2 separate regions of the Homo sapiens genome follow, and region 2 is linked to region 1. Evidence: promoter capture Hi-C in 16 types of primary human blood cells and fetal thymus (Javierre and others, 2016). All regions are on one chromosome and are shown on one strand. Each heading gives the region's core, a stretch centred on a gene start or on the middle of the fragment in contact. The rest is flanking DNA. Distances are from core to core; before and after follow the strand shown. Region 1 holds the start of FAM168B (family with sequence similarity 168 member B). Region 2 holds the start of INSIG2 (insulin induced gene 2).

Region 1 (7,282 bases), core at 2,615-5,114:
ACTCACAACTACTTGGGGAGGCTGAGGCAGGAGAATGGTGTGAACCCGGAAGGCGGAGCTTGCAATGAGCCGAGATGGCGCCACTGCACTCCAGTCTGGGCAACAGAGCGAGACTCCATCTCAAAAAAAAAAAAAAGAAAGAAAAAAGAAAGACCTGGCTGGGCATGGTGGCTCACGCCTGTAATCCCAGCACTTTGGGAGGCCAAGGTGGGCAGATCACGAGGTCAGGAATTCCAGACCAGCCTGGCCAACATGGTGAAACCCCGTCTCTACTAAAAATACAAAAATTAGCCAGCGGTGGTGGTGCACACCTGTAGTCCCAGCTACTTGGGAGGCCGAGGCAGGAGAATCACTTGAACCCAGGAGGCAGAGGTTTCAGTGAGCCGAGATCATACCACTGCACTCCAGCCTGGGCGACATGGACGCTCCATCTCAAAAAAAGAGGCCGGCGCAGTGGCTCACGCCTGTAATCCCAGCACTTCGGGAGGCCGACGAGGGCGGATCACGAGGTCAGGAGATCGAGACCACAGTGAAACCCCGTCTCTACCAAAAATACAAAAAAAAAAAAAAAAAAAATTATCCAGGCACGGTGGCAGGCGCCTGTACCCAGCTACTCAGGAGGCTGAGGCTGGAGAATGGCGTGAACCCAGGAGGCTGAGCTTGCAATGAGCCCAGACCGTGCCACTGCACTCCAGCCTGGGCGACAAAGCGAGACTCTTGTCTCAAAAAAAAAAAAAAAAAAAAGAAAGAAAGACCTATCACTATATACTATTGTTTCCTGGTTTGGAAACATACCATCTCTAAACAAAGTTCCACACAGAGCACTAAGTATGAAATACTATAACACGAGGCCTTTAAAATTTTATATCAACAAATCTAATTTTAAGAGGTTTAGATTCACTCTCAGAAACACCAATATACAAGATACAATACTCAGAAAAATCAACATTGGAAATTCTCAGTAATGTCTGGCAACATCAACAAGAGCTTGTAGACTTGGTGGCAAGTGCCTGTAACACCAGTGCTTTGGGAGGCTGGGGCAGGAGGACTGCTTGAGCCCAGAAGTTTGAGATCAGCCTGGGCGATATAGTGAGACTCCCATCTCTACAAAATGAACATATATATGTATAATATATACAAATTTTTTGTTTGAGATGGAGTCTCGCTTTGTTGCCCAGGCTGGAGGGCAGTGGCACAATCTCGGCTCACTGCAAGCTCCACCTCCCGGGTTCACACCATTCTCCTGCCTCAGCCTCCCCCAGTGGCTGGGACTACAGTTGCCTGCCACCATGCCCGGCTAATATTTTGGTATTTTTAGTAGAGATGGGGTTTCACCATGTTATCCAGGATGGTTTTGATCACCTGACCTCGTGATATGCCAGCCTCAGCCTCCCAAAGTGCAGGCATTACAGGCGTGAGCCACCACACCTGGACAAAAATATATTTTTAAAAAAGAAGCTGGATACGGTGGCTCACGCCTGTAATCCCAGCACTCTGGGAGGCCAACGCGGGTGGATCACTTGAGGTCAAGAGTTCGAGACCAGCCTGGCCAACATAGTGAGATGAGACCCCATCTCTACTAAAAACACAAACATTACCTGGGCAGGGTGGCATGTGCCTGTAATCTCAGCTACTCCGGAGGCTGAGGCAGGAGAATCACTTGAACCCGGGAGGAGGAGGTTGCAGTGAGCCGAGATCACTCCACTGCACTCCAGCCTGGGCGACAGAACAAAACTGTCTCAAAAAAATAAATGAATAAATAAAAAATAAAGCATATAGGCCGAGCGCGGTGGTGTCTCCAGCACTTTGGGAGGCCGACGTAGGTGGACCACCTGAGGTCAGGAGTTCAAGACCAGACTGGGCAACATGGTAAAACCCCGTCTCTACTAAAAATACAAAAAATTAGCTGGGCGCAGTGGTGTGTGCCTGTAATCCCAGCTACTCGGGAGGCTGAGACAGGAGAATCCCTTGAGCCCGGGAGGCGGAGGTTGCAGTGAGCCGAGATCACGCCATTGCACTCCAGCCTGGGCGACAGAGCGACACTCCGTCTCACAAAAAAAAAAAAGAAAAAAGAAAAGAAGTTCTCTCCCCCAAACTTTACCTTCATTACCAAGGTTTGGGTTTGCATTTTACTGGGAGGAATTCATGTATTTCTGCACAGTACAATCAGACAGACTTAACAGACTGGACACAAGGCATGAAAAAACTATTACTCTATTACGCTGGTGTACTGTTCTTTTAAAATTGTGCTCGGCCAGGCGCGGTGGCTCACGTCTGTAATCCCAGCACTTTGGAAGGTCGAGGCGGGCGGATCACGAGGTCAGGAGATTGGGACCATCCTGGCTAACACGGTGAAACCTCGTCTCTACTAAAAAAAAAAAAAAACAAATACAAAAAAATTAGCCAGGCGTGGTGGCGGGCGCCTGCAGTCCCAGCTACTTGGGAGGCTGAGGCAAAAGACTGACGTGAATCCGGGAGGCGGAGCTTGCAGTGAGCCGAGATGGCGCCACTGCACTCCAGTCTGGGAAACAGAGGGAGACTCCGTCTCAAAAAAAAAAAAAAAAGTGCTCAATTGATCCAGGAAAAGAAACTGTCTAAGACAACTTGGGTATAATTTCCCTTTAAACTACGGAACTCCACCAAAGTAAGCCTGCTTTGTAAAGACAAAGAGAAGCAAGATCTTCACAATTTCTGCAACACTAGCTTCAAAATTAGAATAGCCTTACACTGCTCAAATCTTGGCTGTCAAAGCAAAAATAACCCACTCCTTCATCTACAAGAGCTTAAAAATGTGTCCTGTTTTTGCCAAAACCAAAAAGTTTTATTTAATCTAGAATCTTTCATCCATAGTATTTGAGAAAAGTGATCTCAAATTACACAAGGATGACCTGAAAGTTTAAGGAGTGGAAACTATATAAACCTTTTTATTTATAAAGCTTCCTTGCATGCGAAAACACTGCAAAATATTCTTGTTTGACTTTAATGATTAAACATTAACTCAAACAGCCCATGAGATGCACACTTCATGTTCACATACACTATAAAACAGAAATACCCTTATTTGTGGACGTCGTAAAGGCGCACTGCACTCTTTTTTCAAAGTTAACCCAGGCTAGGCCACGAAACGTCCTTTCTGAAGGAAATCTTAAAAATCTGTAATTTAAATCGTGCCTTTTCAAGCTGGAAGGAGAACGCTCAGATTCCGCCAAGCAAAAAAATAAAAATAAAAATTATCTTTACTTCGTGGGTAGACAAAGTGAGCAGTTACACATTGGAAATGACTATTGTCACAAAGCTCTGCCCCCGGGTTTCACGCTCGCATTCCTGACGGCTGTGACCCCGACCTTTAGGAGAACGCCCCGCGCCGCGAAGCCACCTCGGCCACCTAGGCGGCAGGCCCGCGCCGCCCGGACCGCACCTGCACGCGTACGTGTCCGGCCGAGCTCCGCCCCCGGCCCCCGCCCGGCCTTGCCCGCGGCACAAAGCGCAGCCCAGGCCGGTCCAGACGCCCAGCGACCCCGAGCCGCGGGCCGACCTTGGCGCCGCCCCGAGCCGGCCGCACAAAGCGCCGCACTTCCGGCCTGGACGCGCAGTCGCCCGCTGCCCGCCCCCACTCACCGCGCCGCGGCGGCGACCTGGGCCTCAGTGACCAGCGCACGCCGGCCCGCGGCGGGCTTGGCCGTGGGGCGAAACAAGGGGGGCGTGCCGAGGAGACCTGCTACGATAAGAGGCTGACCCTCCGAGCCCCGCGTCTCCGCCGCCTCCCGGACGCCGCGCTCCCGCTCGCTCGGCTCCGCTTGGCCCGGCCCGCCTCTCCGCAGCCCGCGCTCCCCGCCGACGCTGCGCAGCCACCGGAGCCGCCGACCTCACTTCCGCCTGAGCGCGCCGCGACGGGGGCGCGCCGGGCACGTGACTGCGCAGCGTGCTCGCTCCCGCCGGCGCCCTCGAGACGCCCGGATGGACGAGCGCGAGCGCGAGCGCGGAGTGGGCCGGTCCCAGTTGGCGAAAGGGCCGGGTGTAGCTGTAGTTTTTTTATTAACTGTCTGTGAAAAAAGTATTTAATTTATATTTTGAGATAGTCCCGCGCCGCAGAAACCTTTGTGTGTGCCCAGACGCCAGGGCGCGGATCCTCAGGCCGCACCCGGGAGTCGAGCACACCCCGGGTGACCGCCACTACGGGGTCGGAGCGGGGCGGAGCTCAGCTCACAGATTCTTTGCCAGTGCGGAGGCTGCGGGCGCCCGCTCAGGAGTGCAGATTTTAGAGAATGCAAGTCAGCGTTTCAAGTGTAGAAGTGCGGGATCATTTCTATAGACAAGAGTTCAGGGAAGTGTACTAGAATGTTAGGGGGTTTTTTGGTTTTTTTTTGAGACGGAGTTTCGCTCTTGTCACCCAGGCTGGAGTACAATGGCGCGATCTTGGCTCACTGCAACCTCCGCTTCCCGGGTTCAAGCGATTCTCCTGCCTCAGCCTCCTGAGTAATTGAGATTCCAGGCGCCCGCCACCACACCTGGCTAATTTTTGTGTTAGTAGAGACGGGGGTTTCACCATGTTGGTCAGGCTAGTCTCGAACCCGTGACCTCAGGTGATCCACCCACGTTGGCCTCCCAAAGTGCTGGGATTACAAGTGTGAGCCACCGCACCCGGCCAAATGTTAGTATTTTTATGTAAGGCTTAGTGTATAGTTACAATGATTTGGTTAGTTCAGGGTGTCTCTCTGGGGGAGGTATGTTTATTATTTCGTATTAAAGAGGTGCGTGTCTTGGTGTTTGTGTTTGGGGTGTCGTCTGGTCTGAGCTAGGTACAGGACGACAAAGGAGGGAGTTATTGCAATAAAGATTAGTGATGGAAGGGAGGAGGCCTGGCTCTGGTCTTTTTTCAGTCGTTTATGAAATAAAAACAGATGGGCGCGGTGTCTCACGCCTTTAATCCCGGCACTTATAGGAGGCCGAGGCGGGCAGATCACGAGGTCAGGAGTTCAAGACCAGCCTGGCCAACATAGTGAAACCGCGTCTCTACTAAAAATACAAAAATTAGCTGCGCGTGGTGGCGCACATCTGTAACCTTAGCTGCTCTGGAGGCTGAGGCAGGAGAATCTCTTGAACCCGGGAGGCGGAGGTTGCAGTGAGCCGAGATCGGGCCACTGCACTCCAGCCTGGGCGACAGAGGAAGACTCCGTCTCAAAAAAAAAAATAAAAATAAAATATAAATGTGATAAAAGGACAAGAAGAAAACATGGGGAAATTCCTTTTTAGTATTGGAGTAAAGAAGGCTTTTCTACATTATTACTTGAAATCCAGAAGTCATGACTATGAAAAGCTTTGGTCGGCAAAAAGCACCATAAGCAAAGTCAAAAGATAAATGATTAACAAGGAAGAAATAGTCCCAACACATGTAATAGACAAAGCTAATCTCTTTAATATTCCAAAAGCTTCCAGAAGTCAACAATAAAAAGCCCTACCACCCAATAGAAAAAGGAGAGTTCACAGCAAAGGACTAAGTCTGGCTGTTAGTCATATGAAAAATATCCAATCTCACTTCTATAAAGAAAAATGCAAGTTAAAACTCTTTGAGGTAGCAGTTTTCACTGTGATTGGCAAACATCCAAAAAATTGACAATGCTATTGGTAAGGCTGCCAGGAAGCTCGCACTCTCAGACATTGCTGGATGGGAAAGGGGATCGTCTGATGATGTGTGTCAAAATAAACGCACAAACAATGTTTCATTCAACAGCTGCACTTCTGGGAGTTTGCCTACAGAGATACTTATAGATGTGTGAAATAAAATGAGTTCACACCTATTAATTGCAGCATTGTGCATAGTAGCAAAATACTGGAAACAAACCCTAGTGTCCACACCTAGGGAAATGACTGAGTAAACTCTGGTTCATCATGCAGTGAAATAGCCTATAACTTGAAAAAGAAATGGGGAAACTTTGTATGTACTGAAATGAAAATATCTCCAAGGTAGACTATTCAATGAAAAAAAACCAAGGTATGGAACTCTGTGTAAGAATAGTATGTAAAGCCGGGCACGGTGGCTCACGCCTGTAATCCCAGCACTTTAGGAGGCCGAGGCGGGTGGATCACCTGAGGTCAGGAGTTCGAGACCAGCCTCAACATGGGAAAACCCCGTCTCTACTAAAAATACAAAATTAGCCAGGCGTGGTGGTACATGCCTGTAATCCCAGCTACTCGGGAGGCTGAGGCAGAAGAATTGCTTGAACCCAGGAGGCGGAGGTTGCAGTGAGCCGAGATTGCCCCATTGCACTCCAGCCTGGGCAACGAGAGCGAAACTCCGTCTCAAAAAATAAAAAATAAAAAAAAAGAATGTTATGTAAAAAGGTAGAAATGAAAAAATATATCTGTATTTACTTACATTTACAGAATATTGTCATATTTACAGAAATACCAAAAAATAGCCAAAAATCTACCAGCAATGATTATCTGTGGTGAGACTGGGAAAAAGTGGGCTCTGAGCAGATAGGGGACAGAGGTGAGAAAGATAATTTTCATGTTTGGGTTTTTTTTTTTTTTTAATTTTTGAACCACGTGAATACATTACCTACTCTAAAATTAAATTAAAAATAAATAAAAATCTTGGCCAGGCGTGGTGGCTCACGCCTGTAATCCCAGCACTTTGGGAGATTGAGGCAGGCTGATCACGAGGTCAGGAGATCAAGACCATCCTGGCTAACATGGTGAACCCGTCTCTACTAAAAATACAAAAAAATTAGCCAGGCATGATGGCACGTGCCTATAGTCCCAGCTACTGGGGAGGCTGAGGCAGGAGAATTGCTTGAACCCGGGAGGCGGAGGTTGCAGTGAGCCGAGATCACACTACTGCACTCCAGCCTGGGTGACAGAGCGAGACTCTGGCTCAAAAAAAAAAAAAAAGAGATTGTGACCATCCTGGCCAACATGGTGAAACCTCGTCTCTACTAAAAATACAAAAATTAGCTGGACGTGGTGGGGCGCGCCTGCAGTCCCAGCTACTGGGGAGGCTGAGGCAGGAGAATCGCTTAAACCCAGGAGGCGGAGGTTGCAGTGAGCCAAGATCGCACCACTGCACTCCAGCCTGGCAACAGAGTGGGACTCCGTCTCAAAAAATAGTAATAATTTAAAATATATATATTTCTGATGGGAGTACAAAATGGTATAATCACTTTGGATAAAGTTCTAATCATTTCTTGTGAAACTAAACATCTGGCCTGGTGTGGTTGCTGAAGCCTGTAATCCTAGCAGTTTGGGAGGCTGAGGCATGCAGATCACTTGAGGTCAGGAG
Region 2 (7,282 bases), core at 2,661-5,160, about 13 Mb before region 1:
TGATGATTCTTTGTATCCTCTGCCATTGCCTTTGTTAAGTTTGCACCACCTCTCAGCAGACAATCGCACTAGCTGCCCACGTAGATTCCCTGTCATCAGTTGCCTACATCAATCTAGCTTAAAATAGGAAAAATATATCTGATCTCATTGAGAGTTCTCAGTTGACTTGCTTCTGTAGAGGTGGGCTGACCTAACTTCTGCATTTCCAGGCTGTGAATTTATTGATGGCAAGAGATCTGTCTTATTCATTGTTGTGTCTCAGTGTTTAACAGAGTTCCCACATGTAACTGCTGCTTACTACGTGCTTGTGAATGTTGACAGGGCACTAGTGAGTGACTAAGAGCATAGGGTTTAGAATCCAATAGATCTAGGTTCAATTTCTGCCTTCTCTGCCACTTAGCTATGAAGTGACCTTGGACTGATTAACACTAAGTCAGTGATTCTCAACGCTCAGGTGGGGCTCGGGCACTAGAACTTTTAATAAATCTATGGGTGATCCTAATATGCAGCCAAAGTTAAGAATCACTGCTTTTAGCCTTAATTTCTCATCTGCTATTTGGTATCTATTTCAAATGGGTTTTGAGCATGTGAAATGAGATTTAACTTAGCACAGTGCCTGGCACACAGAAAGTGATTACCATCAATCATGATGTTAAAATACAACTTCAATTTGCAATTTTCTTTTCAATTGCTACCCCCAGCTCTGCCTTTCTTTCAATTCCCAGAATGCACCAAGTTTTTCAGCTTTTGTGCCCTCACACCTGTTCTTCATCCTGCTCTTAGCAGATCCCTCTCAATCTTCAGCTCACGCATGGTCTCCAGGTATTCCCCTTTATTCTCCATCACAATATGGAGATGTTCCATCTTCATGGCACTTGTCTCAGTTTGTAATTACATATGAATTCCACCATTTACTGTGTTTCCCCCACAGGACTCTAGCTTCACAAAGGAATGTGGCTTGTCTGTATTGATTTCCTCCTAAAGTCCAGTGCCAAGTGTCTGGTACCTGCCAGGTGCTCAGGTGATAGCTGGCTTAGTAAATAATCCATTCTGATCTCTCAAAAAAGCAAAATTCCTTGACTTTCTATGTCCCTCAAACATATTTCACATCAAAACACCGTAACAAAAACCAAAACCAAAAAAGTAGAATGGTCTGTAGTGTGTGGGGTTCTAGCTACTGAATAGGAAAATTGCAATAGTAAAAAAATTATCTTGGATGTTTTTAATTTGGGTAATGTTTCCAAGTCCAAGGTTCTTAGAGGCTTACTGAATGGCTTAGTCATCAACCTGTAGGCAATAATTAATGTGACTCCTACAATATCTCACTCCAACAAAGTCAATAAACTTTTGTGGGTGTTTGTATTAGCTAAGTAAAGGGCTTTTTGTTTTCTAACTTATCTTTGATCTTCTTGGTTGGGAGACCAAACAACATATAAAGCTAATGGAAAAAACCTTTCTTGAGGTCAAGAATTATCAAATTGTTGATACTTCTACCTATAAAAAAGACCTCAGAAATCATCTAAACCAATCTCTCATTTTACAGATGAAAAGAAGAAAGCCTAAAAAAATGAATTTATTGCAAGTGATTACACGCATACTGTCTTAGTGCTAAAATACAATCCAGGTTTCAAGGATCATTCACCAGCGTTCCATTGACCACATTACACCAACTTCAAAATAACTCAGTTGTTATGATTTCTTGATGTTCTTAACCAATTTATATTCTGGCATCAATTAATTTAGGATTTCCATGTTTCCATAACAAAAATTTAGTCCAAATTCATGAGCCTGATGTTTAGAACTCACATGTCTCACCATACCTCTTTGTACATGCCAGACTCTGCAATCTGTTTCATGTTTTTCCAACTCTGAGCTTCCACCAGAATGCACAGGCTAACCATATCTGCATATTTACCCTCAACGCCCACTGAAAGACCACATCTTCCATGAAAACTTTCCTCAAATCTGGTCAAAGAAGACAATGGCCTTTTGTATTTCTCCTAGGGATTTTATATTCCTCCTTGTACTGCAGTAGGAGTAACTGCATTAGATATAGGAACCTTGGAACTGGTGCTATATGGTTTTTGCTTTTTAGGTTCTGTCACTACTTGCAATTAATACATATTTAAACGAAAATAAATGCCCCTCTAGGTTACAATGTTCCATAAGGATTTTCTTGAAGGCAATTTCTAAGTGTCTGAAAAAAGCTCGGTTGGAGTAGACATGAACTGGACATACAGGACTTGTATTGCTTTAAGGAAATACATGATGTCAGAACATTTTCAAATTATTGTCTCTTTTCTGAATGCTTTCTCTATTCTTTTAAAAATCATCGTCCATTCTGTATAATTGGCCCAGATCTTTCTTACTGGTAGTGTAAAAACTTACAGGAGTGAAATTTGAAAGCTACAGAAAACATTAGAGAAAACACTAAGATATAGGAAATGTTAGAGAAGCATCATGCAAATACTTGCCTAGAAACATTTTGTTGGAATTCAGATTCTTTTTCAATTTTCAGAAGTAAATGTAGATAAAAAGGTCAAAAAACAAAAATCCATCTTATCGTTTATCAGTTCAAAGTAAATGAAAGGAGTTTACCATCTGACAGTCCTTTGGAAAACTATTATGCAATTACTCTCGGCCCAGATTTCATCTAGAACATTCAAGTCCATTGTAATCTTACCACATCCATACACGTTTTGGGTTAAGCCACCTCCAAATGGAATAGCTCAATAACTAATACACTCAAGAGAGATTATTTTTTCTCTCTTTTTAAAAAGAGTTGCTTAAAAAAAACAAATTCAGGGGGCAGCTCACGCCTGTAATCCCAGCACTTTGGGAGGATGAGGCGGGCGAATCACGAGGTCAGGAGTTTGAGACCAGCCTGGCCAATATGATGAAACTCCATCTCTACTAAAAATACAAAAAGTAGGCAGACATGGTGGCATGTACCTGTAGTCCCAGCTACTGGGGAGGCTGAGGCAGAAGAATCACTTGAACCCGGGAGGCAGAGGTTGCAGTGAGCCGAGATCATGCCAGTGCACTCCAGCCTGGGTGACAGAGAGAGACTCCGTCTCAAATAAATAAATAAATAAAAATAAATAAAAATTCAGAATAGGGAAGCAACTCCTCCTTATGACGAGTACCTTTCGGCACTTATATGGGCTTGCTTTTGCATTGATGGCACCACTTTCATTCAAAAAAAAAAGTTCGCTTGCACAATCTGCAAAGATCTGTTTGGCTTGGTTTCATGTTCTAAAAGTATGGTTTTAGATTAAATGAAAAATAATACTTCTGAAAAATAAGCGGTTATAAGGTTTTTAAGTTTTCTTTATGTTGGTGTAAACTTATAAAGCCCTTCCTATGAAAACTGTCCCCCAAATCACATTACTTGGTCGTCCTCGAGGAACGATTTTGAATGAAAAGCACATAAAGTGCTGTAGCATGGAGACGAGAGACAAATAACTATGCCCTTCTCCCAAAATAAGTTATGACTTACTAGGGGAGGAAAAGGAGCAAAGAGTATAAAGCCCGGTCCTCTGCGGGAAGTACCCGGAGGCCTGCCCCGGAACGCGCTCCTTTCGGCTACGAGATGAGGGGCACGCAGACGGACGCGCCCCTCGGTGAGTGTGCGTGTATCAGTGCATGATTCCTTTACTCCGCCCACAGGGTCTGGGCATCCGTCATTACCTACGGCTGCCTGGTCAGCAAACAACAGCAGATCCGACAACCGCCAGTCACCTCGACGGTCCACGCCCACCGCTAGCCTCCAGTTTCCCGCAGACCGGAAGCCCTTTTGCCCCGGCTCGCAGGTCCACGTCTTATTGACAGCAGGAACCGGAAGCTCTTCTGCCCCGATCGCCTGCGCGCGGCCTCGTTGGCCGCACAGGCGCAGTGGAGCTCGGGCGGAGTTGTGGGAGTGGAGGAGGAAGAGGCGGTAGGGGGTACGGGGGCTGGTCCCAGAAGATGGCGGAGGCGGGGGTGAGTTGGGGGTCTCCCGGCGAAGCGCGGGTGACGTGGTGCTGAGGAAAGCGGCCTGAGGAGGAGGGTGGCCCTTGGGAAGAAGAACTACTTGTGTTTTTGCAGCCTGGGAACCCTGGTGGCAGGTGCGGGGAGCCAGGACCACTGATGGGCCTGCAGGGCAAGGGGCTCCGCTTACCTGAGAGGGGTCCGCAAGGTCCAGAAGGGGACTGCGGGATCGGGGAGGGGGTATAGGAGGGGTCGAGGCTCCCCGGACAGTGGATGAGTGTCTGAGCGGGAAGAAGGCTGGAGGACGGCGAGAAGGGCGACCCAATGGTCTGATGAGGTGGAGGTCAGCGAGCTGTCAAGCATAGAGCTGCCAGGACTTGGGGGCTTGTAGCCTGGGAGAGAAGACTCAGACTTGGGCGGGGATTGGATCCAAAGAAGACAGGTTGTCGTAGTAAGTTTATAATCCACTAAGGAGATAGGGCATTGGGTTGAGGAGTAATACTCTGGCATTTTTGACTGGAATTGGTTACCTATGGAATAGGTGTTTCGGTAAAGCCAAATAATTCTTGCCAGGGCCTAGAAGTGGATTTGATGATAATTACTAGATTTTAGGGTTGCTTAGTGGGGATTGGCAATATGGAGAAGGAAAGCAGTGTGGATTATGGGAGTGGGCGCGGGCAATGGCGCTAACACTTAAGTGATAATGACCCATGTCCAGTTAACGTTGGAAAAAGTTGTTAAAGTATGATATTAGCTAGATGCTCTAGGAAAATATACCATGAAGAACTTGCTGTTTTGTAGGATTGATGAAGAAATGCTTTAAAAAGGAATGGTTAGGCTTGGCAGCTGGGCCACTGAAACTGTTTGGTATCAGTATTGCGGTGGAGCTGAGGACTGCAGGGGAATGCGTGCTCCCGTCCTGGTGCAGAAAAAATAAAAGCAGCCAGACAGTAGCTAGATGGTGTTTTGTAACTTTTGGGTTTGGCCCTGATAGTGAACCACTGAATGAAGATGGATGAAGGGAATGCTACTAATGGGGGCCCCAAAGAAAACAAAAATCAGACGTGTGCTCTTCCTGTTTTCTGTCTTTCATTCTTTCCCTGTACTTTGTGCTCAGTACTGTGTTTTGTCATTGTGTTATGTCGTAGTTCTCAGTTCACATCTGCTGTACAGTGACCAAGCTGTGAATCATGTCCACTCGGGAAAGAGGTTGATTCTGTTTAACTGACAACTGTTGCTTTTGCAGATGGTCACACGGAAAAGGAAAGAATAAAATGCAGTTCAGTAGTTTAAAGAGTTTTCTTTGTTCTCAGAAACTTATCTCGAAACGATGGAGTAACTTTTTTAGGCACTGAGATGTGACATTTAAAACCTGTAAGGGGCTGTAAATGCAGCTAACTTACTGGTTTCTATGTTTGGGTTTTAATGTTGAGAGGAAAGAGTTGCAGTGTTTATAAGGCAAATATTGCTTTTCTTCCTAGAAATTTTTAACGTCTCTAGCCCATGATACATGTAGATGTGTTTTTATTTAGGGAGCATTAAACTGTTGCATTGATTTAAGTCTGTTTTTTTCTAATGTTAGTGCTTATTCTATTTCAAGAATGCTATTCTAATTAAGAGAGCATATGATGAAAAATATGTGAGGTAGTAATTTAACTTTATTATTTAGTAGCTTACGTGACCTAAGCACCTGAAGAAACAGGGTTATCTGAGGGAGTAAAAATACTTCTTTTACGGCTAATCATTGGAAGAGGAATGGTCTTGTCATTTGGTTTTAGGGGGTGTTGCAGTTGTTACAATGCAACAGGTTCTTAAGGTTACTAGAAGATTTTGTATGTGTGTTTGTTTTCAAATGCTTGTTGCCTCTAAGTTGTTTCAGTGGCCAACATGAACCTTGATTTTTATTCACGAAGCTCATAATCACTTATAACTCTTTTTTAACCTGAAAGTAATAATATCAATCCATTAATAGGCAGCCATACACCTGGAATAATGTTTTTCCAGTATTGATGATTCATCATTGATCTATGCAAATTATTTCAACTTTTTTTCTTTTTGTTTAGTATTGTACTTTCCAGAAATTTTAGGCCAGGGCTCAGCGTAGAATTTTTCAAGTCTGGTGGAAAGTTTTTCTTTGTGAATTGTTGAAAACATTATTTTGGTATTAATAGTAGTTTACCAACATGATTTTAAAAACGGTTTCTTGTGTGGCACTTAAATTGTTTTGTACCATGTTTGTGAATGGAAGCAGTGTGGTGAAGCAGGAAGAACTCCGGACATGGGGTCAGAGTGGGTGAGCCTAGTCCTGGTGCTACCTGGTAACAGTTCTGTGATCTTGGAAAGTTACTTAACCTATTTTATTTTGTAAAATGGAAACTAACAACACCTGCCTATTTACCAAGATTGTTTTCGAGAATCTATTGACATATTGTCCTTTAAACAGTATCTTTATACCAGAGACTTTTTCCCTGGTCAGCAAATTATTTGTCAAGTAATCTAAATTTTTCAAATATAGATTTTTAAAAAAAATTTTGGAGCATCAAGTTTATCATTAATGTAAGACTAATATTTAAAGATATAGATCCACTTTGTTTTAAGAAAATGGTATCAGTACAAAATCAGAAAAACAAACTTCAAAGTAAACTAAGGGAGCTTACTTTCCCTTGAAAATAACCCACTCCTCTGACTCCTCTAGTGTGCAACTGATATTATAAACATGCTTTTAAAGGAATTTCATTGTTGCATGGTAGGGGGTGAAATGGTTTTGTGGACGCCTCTATCCCTTTGATGAGTCTGGTCATTTTCTGGCATTCACTATACACGTTTGTGGTAATAAGAACTGATGGTACTGTCTTAATCTTGTTAATCCAGTTGACTACTTTGCATGTCATTGGCCTTGCTAATAGAGTGAGAGAATTGTTAGATTACTGATTCTTTACTTTGTTTGGATCATGGACTTTTTTGAGTACTTTATATAAATTATGGAACTTTCATCCCAGAAAAAAATGCATATATATACAACTTTTTTGTTTTGTTTCGCATGGGGGTCTCATACCCCTTGGAATAGATGATTTCCCAGTTCCCTGCTATTTCTTAAAGCTTTTATTTTTTGTCACCAGTAATTATATACTATTGTATTATGATGTAGTTACAAAATTAGCTTTTTGAATCTCATTCAAATAAATGTCAAGCAAATGTGTTATTTTTAAGGAAAACTTTTGGGGCGAAGTAGAAAACTAAACAAGCACTGCCAGGAAAGGTTAAATAAGCAGCTGTGGTAGAAAACATAAATAAACAGAAAGTCTCTAGCTGT

The links. Contacts are between HindIII fragments. The CHiCAGO score rates a contact against its expected background, and 5 or more counts as called.
Region 2: the fragment with the promoter of INSIG2 here is called in contact with the fragment with the promoter of FAM168B in region 1 in 3 of 17 cell types (fetal thymus, total B cells and neutrophils); the score reaches 11.6 in fetal thymus.

Annotation. Positions count from the first base shown.
Region 1 is chr2:131,089,596-131,096,877 of GRCh38, forward strand. FAM168B (family with sequence similarity 168 member B) reads right to left here and starts at 3,865. Exons shown (of 7, transcript NM_001009993.4): 1 at 3,619-3,865. RefSeq lists a silencer at 3,319-4,038. The HindIII fragment of the contact is 2,381 bases long and covers 2,935-5,315 here.
Region 2 is chr2:118,084,561-118,091,842 of GRCh38, forward strand. INSIG2 (insulin induced gene 2) reads left to right here and starts at 3,911. Exons shown (of 6, transcript NM_016133.4): 1 at 3,911-3,981. LOC107985940 (a long non-coding RNA gene) reads right to left here and starts at 3,871. Exons shown (of 3, transcript XR_001739662.3): 1 at 3,691-3,871. RefSeq lists enhancers at 3,616-3,665, 3,676-3,865. The HindIII fragment of the contact is 7,859 bases long and covers 1-7,066 here.